Regions from separate parts of the Homo sapiens genome. Here all the other regions are linked to region 2. The links are contacts of gene promoters, found by promoter capture Hi-C in blood cells and fetal thymus (Javierre and others, 2016). All regions are on one chromosome and are shown on one strand. The core of a region is centred on a gene start or on the middle of the fragment in contact, and the rest is flanking DNA. Distances in the headings are between cores, read along the strand shown. Region 1 overlaps FAM186A (family with sequence similarity 186 member A). Region 2 holds the start of COX14 (cytochrome c oxidase assembly factor COX14). Region 3 overlaps FAM186A (family with sequence similarity 186 member A).

Region 1 (3,802 bases), core at 1,254-3,753, 240 kb before region 2:
GATCCCTCTTACCCCTCAGCAGGCCCAGGCCCTGGGGATCCCTCTCACCCCTCAGCAGGCTCAGGAATTGGGGATCCCTCTCACCCCTCAGCAGGCCCAGGCCCTGAGGGTCTCTCTCACCCCTCAGCAGGCTCAGGAATTGGGGATCCCTCTCACCCCTCAGCAGGCCCAGGCCCTGGGGATCACTCTAACCCTTCAGCAGGCCCAGCAATTGGGGATCCCTCTCACCCCTCAGCAGGCGCAGGCTCTCGGAATCACTCTCACCCCTAAGCAGGTTCAGGAACTGGGGATCCCTCTTACTCCTCAGCAGGCCCAGGCCCTGGGGATCACTCTCACCCCTAAGCAGGCTCAGGAATTGGGGATCCCTCTCAACCCTCAGCAGGCCCAGACCCTGGGGATCCCTCTCACCCCTAAGCAGGCACAGGCTCTGGGGATCCCTTTCACCCCTCAGCAGGCGCAGGCCCTGGGGATCCCTCTCACCCCTCAGCAGGCGCAGACTCAGGAGATCACTCTCACCCCTCAGCAGGCCCAGGCCTTGGGGATGCCTCTCACCACTCAGCAGGCTCAGGAACTGGGGATCCCTCTCACCCCTCAGCACGCTCAGGCCTTGGGGATGCCTCTCACCACTCAGCAGGCTCAGGAACTGGGGATCCCTCTCACCCCTCAGCAGGCTCAGGCCTTGGGGATGCCTCTCACCACTCAGCAGGCTCAGGAACTGGGGATCCCTCTCACCCCTCAGCAGGCTCAGGAATTGGGGATCCCTTTCACCCCTCAGCAGGCACAGGCTCAGGAGATCACTCTCACCCCTCAGCAGGCCCAGGCCCTGGGGATGCCTCTCACCGCTCAGCAGGCTCAGGAGCTGGGGATCACTCTCACCCCTCAGCAGGCTCAGGAATTGGGGATCCCTCTCACCCCTCAGCAGGCCCAGGCCCTGGGGATCCCTCTCATCCCTCCGCAGGCTCAGGAATTGGGGATCCCTCTCACCCCTCAGCAGGCCCAGGCCCTGGGGATCCTTCTCATCCCTCCGCAGGCTCAGGAATTGGGGATCCCTCTCACCCCTCAGCAGGCCCAGGCCCTGGGGATCCCTCTGATCCCTCCGCAGGCTCAGGAATTGGGGATCCCTCTCACCCCTCAGCAGGTCCAGGCCCTGGGGATCCCTCTCATCCCTCCGCAGGCTCAGGAATTGGAGATCCCTCTCACCCCTCAGCAGGCCCAGGCCCTGGGGATCCCTCTCACCCCTCAGCAGGCGCAGGAACTGGGGATCCCTCTCACCCCTCAGCAGGCGCAGGAACTGGGGATCCCTCTCACCCCTCAGCAGGCGCAGGCTCAGGGGATCCCTCTCACCCCTCAGCAGGCCCAGGCTCTGGGGATCTCTCTCACCCCTCAGCAGGCGCAGGCTCAGGGGATCACTCTCACCCCTCAGCAGGCCCAGGCACTGGGAGTCCCCATCACCCCAGTAAATGCCTGGGTGTCAGCTGTCACTCTTACCTCTGAGCAAACCCACGCTTTGGAGTCCCCTATGAACTTAGAACAGGCTCAAGAACAGTTATTGAAGTTAGGGGTTCCTCTCACCTTAGATAAAGCCCATACCTTGGGATCGCCCCTCACCCTTAAGCAAGTCCAGTGGTCCCATAGACCATTTCAGAAATCGAAGGCTTCTCTCCCCACTGGGCAATCCATCATATCAAGATTGTCTCCAAGTCTTAGGCTGTCCCTGGCATCATCAGCTCCTACTGCTGAGAAGTCCTCTATATTCGGGGTCTCTTCTACTCCTTTGCAGATATCAAGGGTTCCCCTCAACCAAGGCCCCTTTGCCCCTGGGAAGCCCCTAGAAATGGGGATTCTTTCTGAGCCTGGGAAGCTTGGGGCACCACAGACTCTTCGTTCCTCTGGACAGACCCTGGTATACGGAGGTCAATCCACTTCTGCGCAGTTCCCGGCACCACAGGCCCCTCCCTCCCCTGGGCAGCTCCCAATATCTCGGGCCCCTCCCACTCCAGGGCAGCCCTTTATAGCTGGAGTTCCACCCACTTCTGGACAGATTCCAAGTCTCTGGGCTCCTCTTTCTCCTGGGCAGCCCTTAGTTCCTGAAGCCTCTTCCATCCCTGGGGACCTCCTGGAATCTGGACCCTTAACCTTCTCTGAGCAGCTCCAGGAATTCCAGCCTCCTGCCACTGCTGAGCAATCTCCCTATCTGCAGGCTCCTTCTACCCCTGGGCAGCATCTGGCAACATGGACCCTTCCTGGGCGAGCTTCTTCATTATGGATCCCTCCCACCTCTAGACATCCTCCCACACTATGGCCGTCCCCAGCCCCTGGAAAGCCCCAGAAAAGTTGGTCCCCTTCTGTTGCTAAGAAAAGATTGGCAATTATTTCTTCTCTGAAATCTAAATCAGTATTGATCCATCCTAGTGCTCCAGATTTCAAGGTAGCTCAAGTTCCTTTCACCACTAAGAAGTTCCAAATGTCGGAGGTCTCTGACACTTCCGAAGAAACCCAGATACTTCGAGACACTTTTGCTATAGAATCATTTAGAACATTTCAGTCCCATTTCACCAAATATAGGACACCAGTATACCAAACCCCTTACACTGATGAAAGGGCCCTTCTCACTCTCATGAAGCCAACAACATCACCATCTTCTCTCACTACTCTACTCAGAACATCACAGATTTCACCTTTGGAATGGTACCAGAAATCCCGATTCCCTCCTATAGACAAGCCCTGGATACTGAGTTCAGTTTCAGATACCAAGAAACCCAAAGTAATGGTGCCCCCTTCCTCTCCTCAAGAACTTGAAGAAAAGAGGTATTTTGTTGATGTGGAGGCTCAGAAGAAGAACCTGATACTATTAAATCAGGCTATAAAAACTTGTGGACTCCCTTCACAGCTACACACAATGGCTAGGACTCTCATAATTGAGATACTTCATATGGACACAGTTCAGTTGGGATACTTATTCCGCAAGTACATTGCCTATAGGCTGATCCAGCATGCCAGGTAGATATAATTATTTACGTCTAGTTTTCTGGTTTAGTTCTGATTGCAAATATTTTCTGTCATTGTCCCAGAAGTATATTCATATTTGTCAGGCCATATGTTCTAAAGGACTGCCTTATATAAGGTCTATGGGAAGGAAGCTTGTTTAAGATAGCAAAAGGAGATATATTTTTTGGAAAATAAGAAATGACATATAACGTGATCCATTTCATCCATATATATCTCCAGCGGAGATGCCAAGTATATTTTGTGGATCATGGTTGGTCTCCAAAACATCAATTTCAAAAGTTTCCAGTTATTCTGAATTTCTTTCATCATTTTTGGTTCACCAGAAATGTATGATTTTTAAAATGGGAGATGGCATAAAAAAAGAATGAGACCAGGCATAGTGTCTCATGCCTGTAATCCCAGCACTTTGGGAGGCTGAGGCAGGTGGATAACTTGAGGCCAGGAGTTCAAGACCAGCCTGGCCAACATGGCGAAATCCCATCTCTGCAAAAAATTCAAAAATTAGACAGGCATGGTTGCGTGCACCTGTAATCCCAGGATTACTTGGGAGGCTAGGGCAGGAGAATCGCTTGAACCCGGGAGGTGGAAGTTGCAATAAGCCGATCATGCCACTACACTCCAGCCTGGGTGAGAGAGTCAGCCTCTGTCTCAAAATAATAATAATAATAATAAAAAGAGATCCTGCCATTTGCAACAACATGAATGGAACTAGAGGTCATTATATTAAATGAAATAAGCTGAGCACAGAAAGACAAACTTCACATGCTCTCACTTATTTGTGGGAGCTAAAAAT
Region 2 (3,546 bases), core at 213-2,712:
TCGCGCCACTGTACTCCAGCCTGGGCGACAGGGCGAGACTCCGTCTCAAAAAAATAAATAAAATAACAAACAAATAAATAAATAAATAAAATAACGGCCGGGTACAGTGGCTCACGCCTGTAATCCCAGCACTTTGGGAGGCCGAGGCGGGTGGATCACGAGGTCAGGATATCGAGACCATCCTGGCTAACACAGTGAAACCCCATCTCTACTAAAAACACAAAAAATTAGCCGGGCGTGGTGGCGGGCACCTGTAGTCCCAGCTACTCTGGAGGCTGAGGCAGGAGAATGGCATGAACCCGGAAGGCGGAGCTTGTAGTGAGCCGAGATCCCGCCACGGGACCCCAGCCTGGGCGACAGAGCAAGACTCCGTCTCAAAAAAAAAAAAAAAAAATTGCGTAAACGTATGGGTAGAAGTGCGATTTTGTTACATGCATACACTGCATAGTGGTCAACTCAGGGCTTTTAAGGTATCCATCATCTTTTATCTACTTTTTGTTTGGCACTTAGAGAGTAGTACATCGGCCGGGTACGGTGGCTCACGCCGGTAATCCCAACACTTTGGGAGGCCGAGGCGGGAGGATGGCTTGAGCTCAGGAGTTGGAGACCAGGTTGGGCAACATAGGGAGACCTTTTCTCTATTTAAAAACAACAACAACAACAACAAAAAAAAAACCTTTTTTTAAAAATTACCCGGGCGTGGTGGCGCACACCTGCAGCCTGAGCGACAAAGCAAGACCCTGTCTCAAAATAACATAACATAACATAACATAACATAACATAACATAACGTACATCATGCTACGGAGGCCGCTAAAAAGAACATGGCTTCTGTCATACAGGAGCTTATGGTCTCATGGAGAGGCACTGTGAGAGTTCAGAGACAACAGCTCAAAGACAGGGTGGGGGCTTGAGAAAACTTAGCAGAAAGGTGTAGGGGTGGGAATCGGGGTGGGAGTGGAACTGTCTTTTTAGAAGGATGGCCTGGAGAAGAGGAGCAGTGAGAGCATTCCAGGAAGTGAAAGCGGTCAAGAGGTGGAGCTGGATAGCCGATATGCACGAAGGGTGCCCCGGAGAGCCACTTATCAGGACGCAGAGGTCTATAGAGCAAGGAAGAGGCAGAGTTGGAGCGTGGAGGGTCGAGACGCCAGGCAGGAGTCGAGGTTTGACAGGATTAGCGCTGAGCTCTAGCAAGACTGACCTACTGCTGCGAGGAGCTTGGGCTTGGGCAGGAAGCAGTGCAGCTCGCGGTCCGCAACGCAACAGAAGCGGGTGAATTCAAGGGCACCAGGCCTGCAGACTAGGGGATGGGAGGACGCGGCAAGCGGAGACTGGCCCAGGTGGGCGCGCAGGCAGTGGGACTGGCAGCCCCTGCTCGGCCCTAGCCGGCAGCGTACCTGGATGCTGCAGCTCCTTCGCATCCAACCGAGGCCTCCTCAGGCAGGCAGGGTCTCGAGGCCACTGTCTACGCAACTTCCCAGCACAGCCGAACGCAGCACTCGGAACCAGACACGTGAGGGTAGCGTCCCTGGACAACCCTGAACGCCTCAGCTATTGGTGCAGAAAGCAACTTTCTCCCTCCCACCTGCCGGGTTAGCCTCTAGGATTCGGCTTGCCGCGCTATAAAGGGAACTGCGCATCAGACGCGGCACAACTCCGCCCACTAAGGCGGGAGTCCGCGCAGGCCGTCACTCTGGCTGGAGGCCGGCTTTGAACTTCCGGCTTCCGGGCCCGTTATCCTTACTACGCATCCTCAGACGCGCCGTGCTCTCGGAGAGGCCCGCTGAATTCTGGGGGCTGTGGTTTCTCTCCCTCGAGGGAGGGTCTTTGGCGAGCCAAGCTCTGGAACCGGAAGTTTTAGGATGCTAAATCAGAGTCAGCCAATCCTCAGCCTACGGTGCGGTGACGTCGCCAGTAGCTGGGTAGATTTTCGCAGCCGGCCTTCTGGAGGTGGATCGCGCGCCCCCTAGAGCCCGGCTGTGGGCCTAGTCCAGGTAGGGGCCCGAGGGGCACCGCGATGCCTGGACCGCTAAGGATGCGGCAGCTTGGCCCGTGACCAAGGAATGGGCACAAGGGATGAGAGTCTAACGTTTCCGTCCCGTGTGTGATCTCTATTCTTGCAGGAGGCATGATAAAGCCCCTAAGAAGGGCCGGCAAGGCCGGGGCCAGCTTGCGGCGAGGGCGGGAGGGGGCGCTGGCGGGAGGGGAGAGAGAGGGATGGGGACTGAGTGGGCACCGCCGCTGACCCCTGGAGTAGCTGCGATTATGGAGGAGGGATTTCTTTTTTCATTTTTCCTACGGTAAGAGGGAAAACATACGTGCAATGATACGCGCCAGCACACGCACTGCCACATGCACTGAAGCTCCCTCTCCCAACTCTTCTTGTTTCTGGAAAAAACACGCTTTATTGGGTAGACAAATAGGCCTGATGGGAAGGCCTGAGTCACAGTGCACTGGGGAGTGAACAAAAGTAGGCAAAGTGCTTGAAGCTTCCCCTTTGCCCCCACCTTAACCTCCTGGGGAGGCAGCTCTGGACACTCAGTACCCAGACCTGGGCTCAGCAAGGCCTGGGGTGACTGTGCCCCTCACTCCTGCTGCCTGATCTGGGCAGCCCCACCCTTCACTGGTAAGACAGAATTCTCAAGGGATAGGCGCAGAGAGGAGCCCGCCTCCCTGGTTCATTGGAGAGTAACAGGGTTTTAGCATAATGCTGGCCAGAGCCAGTGTGCCAGGTGCTGCCACACAGGAAGCTGACAGCCCTGCTGGACGGGCGGGAGCCTCTCGGGCCCTCCGGACTATTTATAGCTGGAGGCCTAGGCTGCTGACCTGTGACATTCCTCTGCTGCCACCCCATCCTGGAGCAAGGCAAGTGCAGAGCACACTCCTCCTCCTCCCCTCCTGTTCTTTCCTCACCCCAGGGAGTAGGGTGGTTTTGATTTTCTTCCTCCTCCTTGAGTTTCCCAGCTCTCGAGTTGCTGGTGTTGTCAGTACCTCACGAGAAGGCCCTCATTCAGCAAAGAGAGCTGCCCTTGGAATATTGGTGCCCACCAACATAGGAATCTGCTCACCCTTCCCTACCGTTCATCAGCCTTTGGGCCACCCTCTGGCCTGCTGGCTTCCAGATGCCAGGCATGGTTAGCTGGTTACCCTGGCCGGTCTGGAGCAGCTGAGGAAGAGGTGCAGAGTTTGGGAGGAAGAAAGGGGTGGAGTCAGGGATGTCCTCTGGGGAGATAGCACAGGAGGGGCCCAGCTGACACCTCCCCCAGCTAGAGCTACTGAGAAGGAAGCCTGGGTGAATACAAAGGTCACAGGGAGCTGAGTGATCTGAGCCTGTTATGAAAGGTGTAGCTCTGTCAGCAGATTAAGTTCCTGCTCCCCAAAGAGGGTGCTGGCGGGGAGGGTGAGGGAAGGCTTGGAAAGGTCGCACAGAGTGGGGAGGAGCTGGCAAAGAACTAGGAACCGGGAAGTCCCTGGGGAGAATGTCAAGCCACCGAGCTACAGATGCCAGCATGGCAGCAATTTGGGTGCCAGGGCAGCCTGGGGGAGG
Region 3 (3,424 bases), core at 150-2,649, 220 kb before region 2:
GCTGGGCATGGTGGTGCGCACCTGTAGTCCCAGCTACTCAGGAAGCTGAGGCAGGATAATTTCTTGAATCCAGGAGGTGGAGGTTGCAATAAGCCATGATTGCACCATTGCACCTCCAGCCTGGGCAACAAGATCGAAACTCCGTCTCAAAAAAAAAAAAGAAACTGAGGACAAGTTTGTTGAAGTAGGGTCTGCAACTATTATCGCTCTAATTTTTATTAATCTTTTCAAGGAACAACATAATGAAACGACTAAAAGCCATCCAAAATACTGGGAAAGGCTATGAGGCCAGGAACCTCCACATGATGCTGAGCAGACTTGATGACTACGGGAAAAAGGTGATGCAGGTCTGGACTGAGAAGCAGAAGTCTCTAGGGCAGAAACGGAATCAGTGCCTGAAGAAAATGATACACGTATTCAACCAGGTAACCTGCTTTCCACTCCCTCTGTCCAGCATGTTGTAAAAACATGAAAGTGGTAAGCTTTGTAAATGACATTTACCTGGAGACACCATGTCATATTACTTTCCTGGGCTGCTGTAACAAATTACCACAAACTTCATAGCTTAAAACAACAGAAATTTACTCTCTCACAGTTCTAGAGGCCAGAAGTTAGTGAAATCAGGGTGTCTGCCAGGTTGGTTCCTTCTAGAAGCTCTGAGAGGGCATTCTGTTGCATGCTTCTCTCCTAGATTGTGGTGGCTATGGGCAATCCTTAGCATTCCTCAGTTTGTAGCCACATAATTCCAATCTCCGCCTCCATCTTTCAAATGGCCTTTTTTTTTGTTTTGCTTTGTTTTTCGTTTTTTTGAGACAGTCTTGCTCTGTCTCCCAGGGAGTACAGTGGCACTATTTCGACTCGGTGCAAACTCCACCTCCTGGATTCAAGAGATTCTCCTGATTCAGCCTCCCGAGTAGATGGGATTACAGGCGCCCACCACCATGCCCAGCTAAATTTTATATTTTTAGTAGAGATGGGGTTTCACCATGTTGGCCAGGCTGGTTTCGAATTCCTGACCTCAGGTGATCCACCCGCCTCAACCTCCCAAAGTGTTGGGATTACAGGCGTGAGCCACCACGCCTGGCCTGAGTTCTTATAGTAAATATTACAAGCTGTGGTTCTAGAAACATTTTATATCTGTATATCCTTGTCTTTCCTTAAAATCGATTAATTTATAAGATTAGTTTACTTGCTACTTTGGAAGGTACAGAGAGGCTTCTCATCAGAGCCTAATCCAAGTCAAACATATATTGTAAATTTTCAGAACTGTTATATTTTATTTTATTATTTATTTATTTATTTATTTTTGAGATGAGGTCTCACTGTGTCACCCAGGCTGGAGTGCAGTGGCGTGATCTCGGCTCACTGCAACCTCCGCCTCCTGGGTTCAAGTGATTCTCCTGCCTCACCCTCCCGAGTAGTTGGGATTACAGGTGCCTGCCACCATGTCTGGTTAATTTTTGTATTTTTAGTAGAGATGGGGTTTCACCATGTTGGCCAGGCTGGTCTTGGACTCCTGACCTCAAGTGAACCGCCCATGGCAGCCTCCCAAAGTGCTGGGATAGAGGCTTGAGCCACCGTGCCCGGCCCAGAACAGTTATATTTTAAATATTACAGCTCTTTGTCAAAAAAATGAATATTCTCCTTTTTTTGATTTGGCAAATATGGCCAATGTACATAGAGTAAAGCAAGATGGGTTGGCAGCAACATGCGTTATCTAACAGGAATCACAATGCCTAGGGCATTTCAGAGGAGGAATAAGGGTCTGGGGCCAGGGAAGCCAGAATCCAGAGGATGAGGTATGGGTATCAAGGCTTGGAGAAAGGAGACAAAAAAAGCAAAAGGGATAAGAGGTTAGATATGAATGAATACTTTGCACTGAATCAGCATGGTGGTCAAGATGGCTAGCTCCGCTACCAGATTGTCTGGGTTCAAATCAGGCTAGCTACATACTAGCTAAGTGACTTTATGCAAGCCGCTTACATTTTCTGAGCCTCAGATTTTCCTGCTGTAAGACAAGGGTAATTATAAGACATACCGCATAAGGTTGTTATAAATACCAAATCAGCTAATATATGGAAAATGCTTAGTTCAGTGTCTGACATTCACTAAGTATTTAGTAAATGCTGGCTATCATTACAGTTGCATACTGCATCACAATTTATAAAGTGCTTCCATATATACTGTGTTTTACAATTCTCACAACCCTGTGTTATTATCCCTGTTTTAGAAATGAGGAGAAAGAAGTGCAGATAAATTAAGCAACTATCCCAAAGTCTCACAGCAAGAAAATAAGAGGACCAGGACTTAAGCTTAAGTAGGACAAAGGTTTTTATGTAGCAGAGCTGCCACCTCTAAAATGATGCATGTTGGAGGTGGGTGGAGTAGGGAGAGGATTTGCAAATCCATGGAAAAGGAGGAGTCACAGTTTAGTCTAGGGCCAGCTCTGAAGACCCTTCTAAAGATTCTGTCTCTTTTCATGGTTTCCTTTTTCTGATCTATTTTTTTTTATAGCTCAAAAAGATACATGAATTGAATCTTAGTCAACCTATCCCCTTAATCATCGAAGAAAAGCAGATACCTGCCTCTACCACATTTGTTCAAAAGCCATTCTTAAAATTACTAATGGAAGAGGACAGAACCTCTGACATATGCAAGAAATTTAGGTATGTGCTAGAAAGACTGATATTAAACTTTGGACGATATGTGGGACCTAATTTTTTTTTCCCTGCCCAAGAACTTCCCTTTCTCCACAATTATCAAATGGTGCAATGGAGAGTCTAAAGGAGTATTAGGCTGGGCGCGGTGGCTCATGCCTGTAATCCCAGCACTTTGGGAGGCCGAGGCAGGTGACTCATCTGAGGTCGGGAGTTCAAGACCAGCCTGACTAACATGGAGAAACCCCATCTCTACTAAAAAAAGTACAAAATTAGCCCGGCATAGTGGTGCATGCCTGTAATCCCAGCTAGTTGGGAGGCTGAGACAGGAGAATCGCTTGAACCTGGGTGGCAGAGGTTGCGGTGAGCCGAGATCGTGCCATTGCACTCCAGCCTGGGCAACAGCGAAACTCTGTCTCAAAAAAAAAGAGTATTAATTCCCTTAGCTAAATTGGCAAGAGGTTAATTTACATATATTTCTACTTAAATATTTAACATTGGATTGTGAGTTCCTCTAAAAATAAAGCTGATTCTTTCTTACTAAAAAACAAATTCTTTTAAGAATATTTAATAAAGAAACTTAGAAGCATTATCTTCTCTTTTTCTTCTATTTTTTTTTAAGGAGGCAGGAGCTTTGGGAAGGAAGGGGGCAAGTTATGTGGTCTCTCTACGCCATGAAGCTAAAATGGTAGTTTTAAAATGGATTACTAGGTGAAGCCATGCAAATGCAGCTTTGGTAACTCAGCGAATTCTGCTTTTTCATCCAT

Evidence for each region. Contacts are between HindIII fragments. The CHiCAGO score rates a contact against its expected background, and 5 or more counts as called.
Region 1: a fragment that was not itself captured here is called in contact with the fragment with the promoter of COX14 in region 2 in 1 of 17 cell types (endothelial precursors); the score reaches 5.8 in endothelial precursors.
Region 3: a fragment that was not itself captured here is called in contact with the fragment with the promoter of COX14 in region 2 in 1 of 17 cell types (endothelial precursors); the score reaches 7.8 in endothelial precursors.

The regions. Positions count from the first base shown.
Region 1 is chr12:50,349,527-50,353,328 of GRCh38, reverse strand. It overlaps FAM186A (family with sequence similarity 186 member A), which reads left to right. Exons shown (of 8, transcript NM_001145475.3): 4 at 1-3,000. Among named protein-coding and RNA genes, the nearest start is that of FAM186A, 45 kb to the left of the region's middle. The HindIII fragment of the contact is 1,279 bases long and covers 1,864-3,142 here.
Region 2 is chr12:50,110,152-50,113,697 of GRCh38, reverse strand. It overlaps COX14 (cytochrome c oxidase assembly factor COX14), which reads right to left and starts at 1,462. Exons shown (of 2, transcript NM_032901.4): 1 at 1,397-1,462. GPD1 (glycerol-3-phosphate dehydrogenase 1) reads right to left here. Exons shown (of 8, transcript NM_005276.4): 8 at 2,385-3,546. RefSeq lists enhancers at 1,133-1,182, 1,193-1,432, 1,653-1,912, 1,973-2,022. The HindIII fragment of the contact is 7,994 bases long and covers 1-2,490 here.
Region 3 is chr12:50,330,912-50,334,335 of GRCh38, reverse strand. It overlaps FAM186A (family with sequence similarity 186 member A), which reads left to right. Exons shown (of 8, transcript NM_001145475.3): 5 at 233-425; 6 at 2,515-2,666. Among named protein-coding and RNA genes, the nearest start is that of LIMA1, 49 kb to the right of the region's middle. The HindIII fragment of the contact is 1,830 bases long and covers 485-2,314 here.